Regions from separate parts of the Homo sapiens genome. Here region 1 is linked to region 2. Evidence: promoter capture Hi-C in human tissues and cell types (Jung and others, 2019). All regions are on one chromosome and are shown on one strand. Each heading gives the region's core, a stretch centred on a gene start or on the middle of the fragment in contact. The rest is flanking DNA. Distances are from core to core; before and after follow the strand shown. Region 1 has its middle 14 kb from the start of LINC00545. Region 2 holds the start of MEDAG (mesenteric estrogen dependent adipogenesis).

Region 1 (5,736 bases), core at 431-2,930, 37 kb after region 2:
ACTACCCCACAACCATCGCCGTGCCAGAACCACAGACTCCCTCCAGACAGCCTCCGATAAGAAGCTCCGTGCCCCTGAGTCCACCTCACAGAGCCCTGACTCCAACCAACAGAACTCCTGACTCCACCCACAAAGCTCTGACTCCACTCCACAGAGCCGTGACTTCACCCCAGAGATCCCTGACTACATCCCACAGAGCCCTGACTCCACTTAACAGAGCCCTGACTCCACCCAACAGAATCCCTGACTCCACCCACAGAGCCCTGTCTCCACCCACAGAATGCCTGACTCCACCCAACAGAGCCCTGACTCCACCTCACAGAGCCCTGACTCCACCAAACAGAACCCCTGACTCCACCCAACAGAGCCCCGACTCCACCCACAAAGCTCTGACTCCACCCAGAGCCCTGACTCCACCCAACAGAGCCGTGACTTCACCCCAGAGAGCCCTGAGTACACCCCACAGAGCCCTGACTCCACCCCACAGAGCCCTGACTCCACCCCACAGAGTTCCTGACTCCACCCAACAGATCCCTGACTCTACCCACAGCCCTGACTCCACCCCACAGCACTGACTCCAGCCCTAAGAGCCCCTGATTCCACCCACAGACTTCCTGACTCCACCCGACAGAGCCCCTGACCACCCCACAGAACCCCTGACGTCGACCCCACAGTGGCCCCTGAAGCTCAATCCCGTGTAGGCCAAGGAGTTATGTGAGCTCCTCACCCCTGTGCTGTCACTGTTTCCCTAATGGCTTCCCTTAGATGACCTCACATAGCATGCGTCACAGACTGAAGGAGCAGAGTAGCATCCTCTCCATTCCAGAGGCAACCGCAGTGGAATGCCATGATTTGCTTATAGTTTCACAGCTTGTAACTGGCAGCAGCTCCAACCAGGGCCCTAGGCTCAGATTCCATGCTCTTTCCAACCTTTCAGGCTCCTAAAGAATTAAAATCAGCCTGGAAAGTGTCTGCCTCTGACTGGGGACATTCGAGTGTGCATATCACCCAAAGGGAAGAGGCAGGAGGAAACGAGCTTCTAGAGTGACAGAAGGAGCTGAGGAATGGAGCCCAATAATAAAGGAAAATTTTAAAAAGAAAATTGACACGAGAGAAGAAAGTCCCTATTTAGAAGAAAATATTTGCTCCATCAGAGCAAAATGCCTCTACATTTCTGCCTGAAACCATCTATATTTCTGAACAGGGCTTGCTCCACCCTACAGTGGAGGAGTGGACTCCACCCTGCAGAACCTTGGTCTCCAGCCCAGCCGTGACCTGGATGCCCTTTCCCTGCCTCTGGCCAGCCCAGATGCATTCCTTCCTGCAAACCCAGCTCAAGTACGTCTTCTCCACAGCCCGTGGTGCACCTTGCCTGCCTCCCGTGTCTCCTCCTCGCTGAAGTCCTCCGGCATATCCACACTATTTGGGGCTGCTTTAATTGGTCCTCACTGGTATTTTGTCTTGAGAAAGTCCTTTGGTTGTTGCATGTGTTTCTGTTTTTGCCCCTTCATCAGATTGTAAAGCCGTCGAAGATGGAAACATTATCTTCTATTTCTCTGTTGGTTTCCAGGAAGCTCCTTTCTGCAGGTCTTCCCTCGACCTCTCAGGATGCACAATCTCAGTCTTTCCTGGCTTGCCTCAGCATTTAACACCCAGTTTGGAGTTTTGGTCCTCTTAGCACTTCTTGTCCTCTCAAGCTACACTCTCTCCAGGCATCCTAACACATGCACATTTGCCACAGCTGCTTACAGCTGAGACTGTTTCCAGCCAAGTATTCAAAGCCATTTCTTAACTTCCAACTGGGCCTTTCCTCCTGAAAAGTTCTGAGGCGACTTCAACTCAGTAGGAACTGAACTGAAGAAATTACCTGTCTCCCAGCCCAGTTCTTTCTCTGGTATCATCTGTCTTTATTAATGCTCCCTCATCCACCCAGTCACCCAGAAACCTGGGATCATCCTAGACTCCTCCCTCCTCATCATCACCACTGTGCCCAGTCCTTCCAGCCCCTCTGAGGGCTGGGGTCTGAGCCAAGCTTTTGACTCAGAGCTTTCCATTTACTCCTCTCCACAATGCTATGGAGAAAGCACTATTTTACCTCTGCCTTAAAAATGAAGACACCCAGTCTGGGCACAGTGGCTTACACCTGTAAGCCCAGCAATTTGGGAGGCTGAGGCGGGCAGATCATTTGAGGTCAGGAGTTTGAGACCCAGCCTGACCAACATGGTGAAACCCCATCTCTACCAAAAATACAAAAATTAGCCAGGCGTGATGGTGCATACCTATAATTCCAGCTACTCTGGAGGCTGAGGCAGGACAGTCCCCTGAACCCAGGAGGCAGAGGCTGCAGTAAGCGGAGATTGCGCCACTGCACTCCAGCCTGGGCAACAGAGTGACACTTTTCCCCCCACCCCCACCAAATACACACAAAGACACTCAGGCTGGGCATAGTGACTCACACCTGTAATCCCAGCACTTTGGGAGGCCAAGGGAAGAGGATCACTTGAGCCCAGGAGTTCAAGACCAGCCTGGGCTACATGTCCTAAAACATTCAAAAATGAGCCAGGTGTGGTGGCATGTGCCTGTGGTCCCAGCTACTTGAGAGGCTGAGGTGGGAGGATCACTTGAGCCCAACAGTTCAAGACTGCAGTGAGCTGTGATCACACCACTGCACTCCAGCCTGGGTGACAGAGCAAGACCCTGTCTTAGAAAAAAAAAAATGAAATGAGGACACCCAGGTTTAGAAAGGGTAAGAAATTTGCCCAAAGTCACACACGGAGTAAGTGGTGGTGTTGAGATTCCCAGCCAGATGAGCTGACCCCAGAGGAGACAAACATCTTCCTGCAGTCAGCCAGTACCCACTCTTCACAGTACAGGGCCCACGAGGTGGAGAAAACCCATTTTATAAGGAGAAAACTGAGGTTCAAAGCAGGTGGTGACCTGAACCAGGCCCACCAGAGTTACGACTGCTCTCACTCCTCTATAGCACAAGCTACCTTTGAGAGAACAGAGCTCCGGATCATTTAAGAGGTTTCCTTCTGTTCAGTGCCAACTGAGTTTAAAATTCCCGTGTGAGTTATGATTATCATTTCCATTGATTCATTTCCATTGATTGAGAATAAAAAGAAGTGGTTTATGTTGCAGCATGAAAGATCTAAATTAGAATTTTTAAAAAAAACCTTCTAGATCTGGAGAGCTGATAGATTTTTCATTTCCTTGCTAAGGGAGTCTATGCAAGCTCTCTCTGGAAATCCTTTGAAATGGCTTAGAGACCTGATGTAGCTAGAATGAGTTTGGAGGAATCCAACATGAAGGTAGCCCAATACTAGGTTGCAAACAGGCTAGATGCTTTTGGGTTTGTAGACATGTTTGATTTGGAACTCCCAGTGTTTTACATGAAAATCCCAAATTCTGGCTTCTTTTGAAAAACCAGTTGATATGACAACCCAAGCCTTTCTGCCCCAGTTGGCCACAGTCCATGCTGGAGCAGGGTCAGCCTGCCTCCTTGGACAGGGCCGGCACACTCCACTTGGCCTCAGCCCCTCCAGCCAGCTTACCTACTGATGTTACCTTCCTGGGCTCTTTAGGCATATGAATTAGTGACCTCAGATGACACTGGTAGGGTCAACCTTTCAAACGTGCACCTTTCCACTTAGCCAAAATCTGAGCTATGCCAGACATTTTGTTAGATAGCATCAGAGCACGGACTAGAAGCTGAATTGCTCTTGCAGTGAAAGGACTGATTCCCACACTCCTATTTTATCCCTACATGAAAACATGGCAAAATCAACTTTCCTTCTTGCTTACCTTCTAGGAAAATCAGAAGTATTCACCAGGTGTTGAAATAGAAACTTATTTCTTATAATTGCCAACTTTGCTGCACTGAGTCACATGTTGATTTCTACCTAATGAAAAATCCAGAGCAGGCTGGAGTCTGACAGATAGAGCCCGATTCGCTATTTACTCTGGTGCTAATCACAATCATGTTTACAGGAAAATGCCCTCATCTGCTTCCAGCAGCTCCAGCCACTCAGCCATGTGAGCGCTGTCTTCAAAGTCAATTGCCTGTCATTTTGCTGATTTATGTTGAGCAACTGCAAGGACCCCTCGAGGTATTTGTAGCTAGCTTGATGATTCCCAGCTTATAAAGTGGCAGTGGGCAGAGCATTTCAGTTCAAATTCCCATCAAGACAGAATTTAAATCCCCAGCCCTGCTGCTCATATTTGCAATGTGAGCACTTTAGATAAGCAGAAACCATCAAACCCTAAATGCTGGGGGAAATACAACCTGGATTTCTTCAAATGGAGCCTAAGCCCAAATCTTCTTTCAGACCTTGGATAGGAAAGTGATTCTAACAGTTTTTAAAAGAGTGATCACATATGCTTTTTCCCAAGAAGTATTAACGACTGAGGCAAGACGGGCACTATCAGATTAGATTGGAGAAGCCGGGAAACGAATTTCCCTCACCGCCTGCCTGGATTCTTAACGTTTCAACCAGCAGAATCTAATTTCTTTGGAATTACTTGCCCTCTAACAGAAGTTTTCTTTTTAAAATGAAAATATTGCCGAAAAGGGAGACCTATTAAATTACTAACCCATTAGCTTCTGGTTTAGCTTCAATCTTAGAGAAGCCCAATTCCTTCTAAACCTGTCTCGCCCTACACTGAAAGTGCTGGAGGTGCAGATCTCAGTGCACTGGCCTTGGCTGCTGAGATTCAGGGAGGTTAGATGGCGGGTAGAGTCACCCATGCGCTGTGGGATGGGGGTCCCTTCCATGCACTCTCCTGGCAAGTCCTGAACCACCAAAGGTGTAAGTGGATGTATTTTTCAGGTTCTCCCTTACAGCACTTTGAAGTCAAACACAAGATTTAAGGATTGCTCACAGCCTGCATTTTCTGTATTTCTGCATTTCTTGTTCACTCAACGTCTCAGGTATTTAATTACATACTCACTGTTAGGGCTCAGGGAAGCTGTTTAGAGGTTCAGCTCAGCCCCTTCGGGTCACAAAACTGAAATACAGTGACTTCCCCAAAGTCAGCAAAGCTCAAGGATCCTTAAGAACCCAGACATGTGAGATACTGAGTAATCCAAACTGAGGCCAACTCCAAAAAAGGGCTCCATTGACTCATCTTTCGGTCATCTCGCTCCAGCTCTCACTTAGAGAAAGTGCGTATTTCTTCCATTTAGAAAAGACTGCTCACGCTTTCCATGTCATTACATTTCTTTATTCCTCTCTTTATATTCCAGCTGCCTTTCTTCGTGTTTTTTGTCACTTGCCCTATTTAGCCATCTCCAAACTAGCTACCTGCCTCCGTGCCATGGAGCATGCTTTTCTGCAGCTCGGCCTCACGATTCTAGGCCAGCTTTTGCACCCCCTACCCCCTCCATGCTTATAAAACTGGGTTCCCTGCTCCCTTTCTGTGTGCTGTTATGCTTCAGAAGCGCCACTGGGTGGCAGTGTCTCAGAGCAGTCCTGGGCCCTGCAACGTGGCTTTGGGCTGGGCTGCTGGTTGCTTGTCTGTTACAGCACAAACAGGCCTGTGTGGACAGGCAGAGCAACGAGACAGCCACAGTGGTGCTCTGGAAAGGATGAGTATTAGATATTAAGGAAACGAGGGACAGAGGTCTGCGTACTGTGTCCTTTCGGAGCTTGCACTAGCCACAAGGCTGACATCTGCCGTCATTCTAACAAAGGAATCTCAAATCCTGAGGCTGTTTGGGAGGTGTCCTTGAAAAGA
Region 2 (6,137 bases), core at 3,208-5,707:
CTGTCACCCATCCAGGAGCAGGTCACAGCTCTGCTTTTAGTGGCTTCCTTAAAATCACTGCACTTACTTACTTTTGTAGGCTGATTGTACAAAATGTGCACTAGCTGACATAATTCCAGTTATTTATTTGTAGATTCAGGAAATGAGTGAGAAAGCAAGATTATTTCAGGTTCAAAGTAATTTGCTGAAAGCATAGGTTCTCCTGGTTCTCCCACTTAGCAGCATCTTACCTAGGTAAATTACTTAAGCTCTGAGTCCTAATGCTTACATCTGTAAAAAGGAGAAACAACAGTAATGCAAACTTTGTAAACTTTTATGAGATAGTAGCTGTGAAATACTTTACACCATTCGAGTAAATGTTAGTAGCCACCATTTCTATTGTATTTATTTTTATTCTCCAGGCAGCCTCTTTCATGCTAGGGGAGCACCAAAAAGAAGGGACTCCAGGTCTTCTTTGCCAAACGTTTGCCATTATATTTCACCAAGAGGCTGCTTTATAGGAAAAAACATGTGTGTGTGTGTGTGTGTGTGTGTTTGTGTGTGTGTCGTAGTTAATGGTAATTTTGACTTTTAAGTATTGAATGAATGGCTCCCTGAATGACCATTACCCACATCTCGTGTCCTGAGCACATTGTGTTTACAACATGGGCGAAAATCCTGATCTTGAAAGAAAATAATAAAAATAAAGATCTTGCCATAAATCCTACAAAATAGGACAAATATTTTTAAAGTAGGTTTTTGAAGGAGCTTTAGAGCTGGTGGTCATCACTAAACCTTCCCACTATGCTGGATTTCTTTAGGTTACTTAGTAGGTATGTACTTAGAAAAAATGTTAAAGTATTAGAAAATGAACCTAAGTAGGGCTGCTAAAATCATCCTGTTGCTCTCTTAGCGAGTGAATAACCTGAAAGTCAAGGTCGGTGGCTCTTAGCCTTTCGGGGTTCCTTGGAAAAGGGCCTCATGAAAGCCACAGTACATACTTATGAGGTCCCAGAAAGAAATTCTAATTACACCAGGGGCTTATCCCATATGCCAAAAATATTTGTTGAGTTAAAAAGAACTAATTAATTAATAGAGCAAGGATTCTTAACCTGGGTCCAAGTATCTCATGAACATCCTGGATGGTCAGCAAAAATTGGGTATATATTTACATTTCTGGGGAATCTACGTAGAATTCTCAAAAGTTCTATGGTCCAAAATGATTAAGAACCATTTTGCCTTTTGGGATCCCTGGCCATCTTGGTGGCTGCTTTTGGTTAGAGGCCATCCCACATCCAAGGCCAGAATATGGTGGCCGCAAAGAAGACGAAAAGTCACTGGAGTCCATCCACTCTAGGCTCCAACCCATTAAGGGTCAAAAATACAAGCTGGGGCAATCCGGCTCTGAAGATGATAGACAAGGCAAAGTGAAACCGGTCATCCCCACCAACTGCCTGGCCTCGAGGAAATCTGAAATACAGAACTAAGGTGCATACTCTCAAAACTGCCATCTACCACTCCAGCAGTAATAACATTAAATTGGGCACAGCATGTGGAAAATACCATAGCAAGTGCACCCTGGTGTCACTGATCCAGGGAATGCTGAGATTTTTTTTTTTTTTTTTTTTTTTTGAGACAGGGTCTCACTGTGTTGCCTAGGCTGGAGTGCAGTGGCACCATCTCGGCTCACTGCAAGCTCCACCTCCAAGATTCAAGCCATCCACCTCCCACCTCGGCCTCCTGAGCAGCTGGGACCACAGGTGCATGTCACTATGCCCAGCTAATTTTTGTAGACAGGAGGTCTCACTATGTTGCCCAAGCTGGCCTCGAAGTCCTGGACTCAAGCAATCCGCCCACCTCAGCCTCCCAAAGTGCTGGGATTACAGGCATGAGGCACTGCACCCAGCCCTGAGATCTTTGGAAGCATGCCAGAACAGACTGGTGAAAATAAATCATGCAAATCTTTAATAAAACTGGCCAGAGCTTATTTTTCAAAAAGAAGGAAGGAAGGAAGGGAGGGAGGGAGGGAGAGAGGGAAGGAAGTGGGGAGGGAGGGAGGGGAGGGAGGGAGGTTTTATGCTATCTCTAAAGCCAAAAACAACTGGCAAATTTGGCAGCTCAGAGGAACGAAGCTTTAGATATCTGAGTTCTGGCTTCGGCATACCTCCCACCTCCTGATTCCCGAGGGCAGAACCTCTCACTGCTGCCCACAGTCCAGTCCTCCCCCTCTGCCTGGAAGGCTGTCTCCATTTAGACCACATTCCCTCCTGGCCATCCTTCAGGACTGCACACTCAGTTATAAAAGCCTCCTTCCCTGCCTGAGGACAATAGATAGCTCCTTCCATCACCCAAATTATTTTCAGAGGCTCCTTGCTATTTCCCAGGTACAAAAGAAGCCCTCACAGTATTGCTTATACAATGATAGCCTATTATTTGTTGTTTTGTATTTGCACCCTGGTCTGTGTTACCTGGTCACTGTGGCCCAGTTGTTTATTCTAGATTCAAAGCTGTCAGGGGAATCACTGTTGTTTAATTTTCTTTTGTGTAGGAGGTGTTCAAAGCAAAAGTTAGATGACAGACTTCAAAATCATTTCAGATTCTGCAGCACTGTTTGCTACAATTAGGAGAACTGGTTCTGTCAAAACCCTAACTTACGGCTTCGTTCATTCTGGACATTTTTATTTTTCATACCCTGCTCTCAAATACAATGGGTATCTTCTTTTTAAATCTGCACACATCTGACTCAGTTCCTCCCACAGTCCTCCGCTTATGGTTTGGAATTGGAATTTTCATTTCACTAAGAAAGGGAGAAATTCTTGCTGGGGAATGGTTCTTCAGGCATTCAGAGCCCTCACTATCTTTGGAAAAGCAAGGTTTTTTCTCCAAGAGTTTTGAAGACTGCACGTTCAATATCTCATTTTGTTTGCTTCCCTCTCTTGGCTCCCTCCTACCCACAGGGTGCCACAGCACGCTGTCTTTCCCAGTAGCAAAGGCGCTGTGTCTCAAAAGCTGGCTATCTTATTCATTTCTGAGTCAAACTCTAGACCATGCTTGCCTCTTCAGGCACTTGGCTCTCTCAGCACAAATATAACAGGTCTTTGCACTCCAGGCCCTTGCCAAGAGTGAACTCTGGAGGCCTGAGGCCATGTGGAATCAGGCCTGAAGTGCCCTCCTTTACCCTGTGGCACCAAAGCCTGCTTCAGATGGCTGGGCCACATCCTGCCGGTCTGCCAAGAAGAGCTTGGGGGCACTCTGGCCACAACAGTCAAGCATCCTGGGGGCCTCCTTCCCATTAAGGCCCTCAGGTTTCGCACTTATTTCCCCAGAACTTATCTGTGCCTTCCACAGCCCACATGGCCCCGGGCTGGACTTCCAGGGGCTTTGTTCCCTTCTCAGCTGCGGTTTATTTGTTTACTTTTGAAACACGAAGTGAGGCCAGAGATGGGAAACTTTGAGCTTTTGCATGCTTCTCCACTCGGTCTCCTCACTGGAGAGGGCTGGCAGTGCTCAGAATGGTGCATGCCCCCTGCTCCTCACCGCCACCCATGCTCCAAAGCCAGGATGTGAGTCTTGCAGAGCTGCAGACAGCCCCTAAAGGGTGTGCTCCCAATTTGAGCTCATCTGACCCAGTTAAGGAGCCAGAATGGGAGAAGCATCTGCCACTCATGAGCTCTGGCTGGGGGGCCCCTGCCCTCCCCCTCGCCCCCAGTCCTGATGCCCTTCTGGGCGGCTTCAAGCAGCAGCTGCAAAATGTCAGTGCAAGAGGCAGAAGAACCAGGGCGAGCGTGCAGGCTCCGGGTGATAGAAGCAGAAGGAAAGTCTAGAAGCGCACGGAGCAAGGGGCCACGCGGTGTCGCAGGCAGCGAGGACAGCCCAGGCTCCCAGAGACCGCAGCCGGGTGGAGGCGTCTGCGGGTACCAGGCGACGGGCCAGGGCGCACGGCGAGGCCACCCACCTCTTGATGTAGCTGCTGAGGCGGTAGAGCTGCCCGTCGAGGCGCACGAGGCCGTCACCGAAGACGTTGAAGCCCCCCCGCGCCGCCGCCGGCTCCCCGGGCCTGGCCACCACGAGCTGGTCGCCGCTCAGCTGGAAGGCACCGGGCTGCAGGCGCAGCAGCTGAGCCAGCGGCAGCAGGGCCAGCTCGCAGTCGCAGGTCCACAGGCTGCGAAGCTCCCCAGACGAGATGGAGGTCAGGCTCGGCCTGGCCACCGGCTCGCAGGCCGCCCCCGCCATGCCCGCGTCGTCGGTCCTCACACCGCCTGCTTCCGTCCGGTGCCTACAGCCCCCAGCCGGCACCTGATGGTCCCCAGGAGGGGCCGGGCGCCCTGCCTGCGTCAGCCGCGCGCGAGGTGAGGAGGGGGTCGGTCTGCCCGCCTGGCCGGGACGCGGTGGCCGCTCAGGTGCCAGTCTGACCGCCCGGGCGGCCCCTCCCAAGCTGCCACTCGCTGGGAGCCCTGCAGGCACCGCGCGGAGAAAGCGGCCCCGGCGCAGCGCGGCCCCTTTTATCCGCCCTCTGGACGCCCGCCTCGCCCCTGCCGGCCCACGGCCACGACCCCAGAGGCTCGGGGCAGAGTTATCATCGTCTCATAACTTGGCATGCTCGAGTCTGCTCGCAGGCAAGGCTTAGTCATCCCCCTGGGGTCCACTACTCAACACCAGCGCTGGCCCCCGCCCTGCCTGGCGGACACTGCCGGAGGCTGGAGGTGGGGAGAGTCCTCCCCGGGTTCCCAGGCCCTGCCTATGGTGGGCGGCAGGGCGCACAGCACCCATCCTTGCCTAAGACACCACACCCCTGGTGTTGATTGGAGAAGAAGGCAAGGGCTCTGGCCCTACCCATTCCACCTGGGACCCAGAGGCTGTCAAAGGCCAGTGCTGGAACTCCGATCCCCACCTCAGTACCAGACCTCTCACTCAGCCTCAGTTTTCTGCCATTTTAACTCCATCCAGATCGTACCCTGCATTTCCCTCCTTTCAGCCTTTCCTTCAGCTGGTTGCTGGCCCTGGATCCCTTCCCCCTAGAAATCCCACTGATCATCACATCGCTTTTCCATAAAGCCTTCACGAATCCCACGAGGGTTTCATCGCTTTGCTTCTCCTTTCTACTGCACGGTGAACCCTAGACTGCAATGTGCCGTGTAGTGGGGATAGCAGGGTCCTAGCATCCTCCCTTCTCCCCTGCCTCCCCAGTAGGTGGTGATCTCCTTGAGCCCCAGAATATGTTCATTTCTTCAGTCTATAAATATGTGAGTGCTAGCTATGGGCTCATTGATCTCCTGAGGTATGAAAGGAGAACTATATTATTCCATTTAATTAAACACCTATTTCTGCTGCGGAGAAGCCTGGATGGGATGGGAGGAGAATCTAGCCTAGTTTCGAGGCTTTCTGTAGTACTGTGTTTTAGGATTCTAAGCTACATCCCAAAAGTTGAGTAGAACGTAGAGAATATCCTTAGTTAGTCTTTGTGTGCCCCCACATGAACTCTTGTGTAGGTTTAATCAGATGGGATGAAGAGTCCTCCCGCCACATCTCATTTAAATCTCAGAATATAAATGAGCCCCACTCTCTTCTCTTCTTCTAGGTGCACACCTATCCTTTCTCCAGACATGGATCTTTTACCCATGGGATCATTACCCCATCTCTGGGCCTCTCTGAACAAATCTAATTCACTGAGCATGAATTGATCACTACCCACTCAACCTTTTGTGGCGCAGGAAGGATGCTCTACCTGTGAAAAAAGCATCCAGAAGATCTTCTTGCAAAGGGAGGTTTGAGGATCCCTGCAAAGAGAATGGGTCTGGGGTGGGCTGAGACTGTAGACAGGACTCAGAGGCTGGGGCTGTTTTCACAGGGGAGGGATTTGGTGCCAGCAGTTAAATCCATTGTGCCCTATTTAGAACTTCACTCTTGTCCCAAACATTGACAGAGTCATCACTATGCACCAGGGACCATCTTAAGCTCTGAGGTCACACACACACACACACAAGGATCCAATAAGTGCTACCATAGATGTATGGACTAAGCACTATGAGAAATAAGTGGTTCTGCCCCAAGAAGGGTGCTCAAAGGAGGTGACACATGGCTAGACTTCCAATACACAGGGGAGGCTCCCAGGGGAAGGAGCAGCAGCAATAAGGAGATGGGAGAGAAGATTCTGTACC

The links. The method cuts DNA at HindIII sites, captures the fragments that hold promoters and counts their contacts. A contact is called where the count stands out against the background at its distance.
Region 1: a contact is called between a fragment that was not itself captured here and the fragment with the promoter of MEDAG in region 2, in 1 of the 25 tissues and cell types used here (mesendoderm cells).

What each region holds. Positions count from the first base shown.
Region 1 is chr13:30,865,248-30,870,983 of GRCh38, reverse strand. No RefSeq gene overlaps it. Among named protein-coding and RNA genes, the nearest start is that of LINC00545, 14 kb to the left of the region's middle. The HindIII fragment of the contact is 6,914 bases long and covers 1-5,137 here.
Region 2 is chr13:30,904,591-30,910,727 of GRCh38, reverse strand. MEDAG (mesenteric estrogen dependent adipogenesis) reads right to left here and starts at 4,457. Exons shown (of 5, transcript NM_032849.4): 1 at 3,935-4,457. The coding sequence starts at 4,212. All of the region lies in intron 2 of TEX26-AS1 (TEX26 antisense RNA 1), which reads left to right. RefSeq lists an enhancer at 3,355-3,856. The HindIII fragment of the contact is 12,319 bases long and covers 229-6,137 here.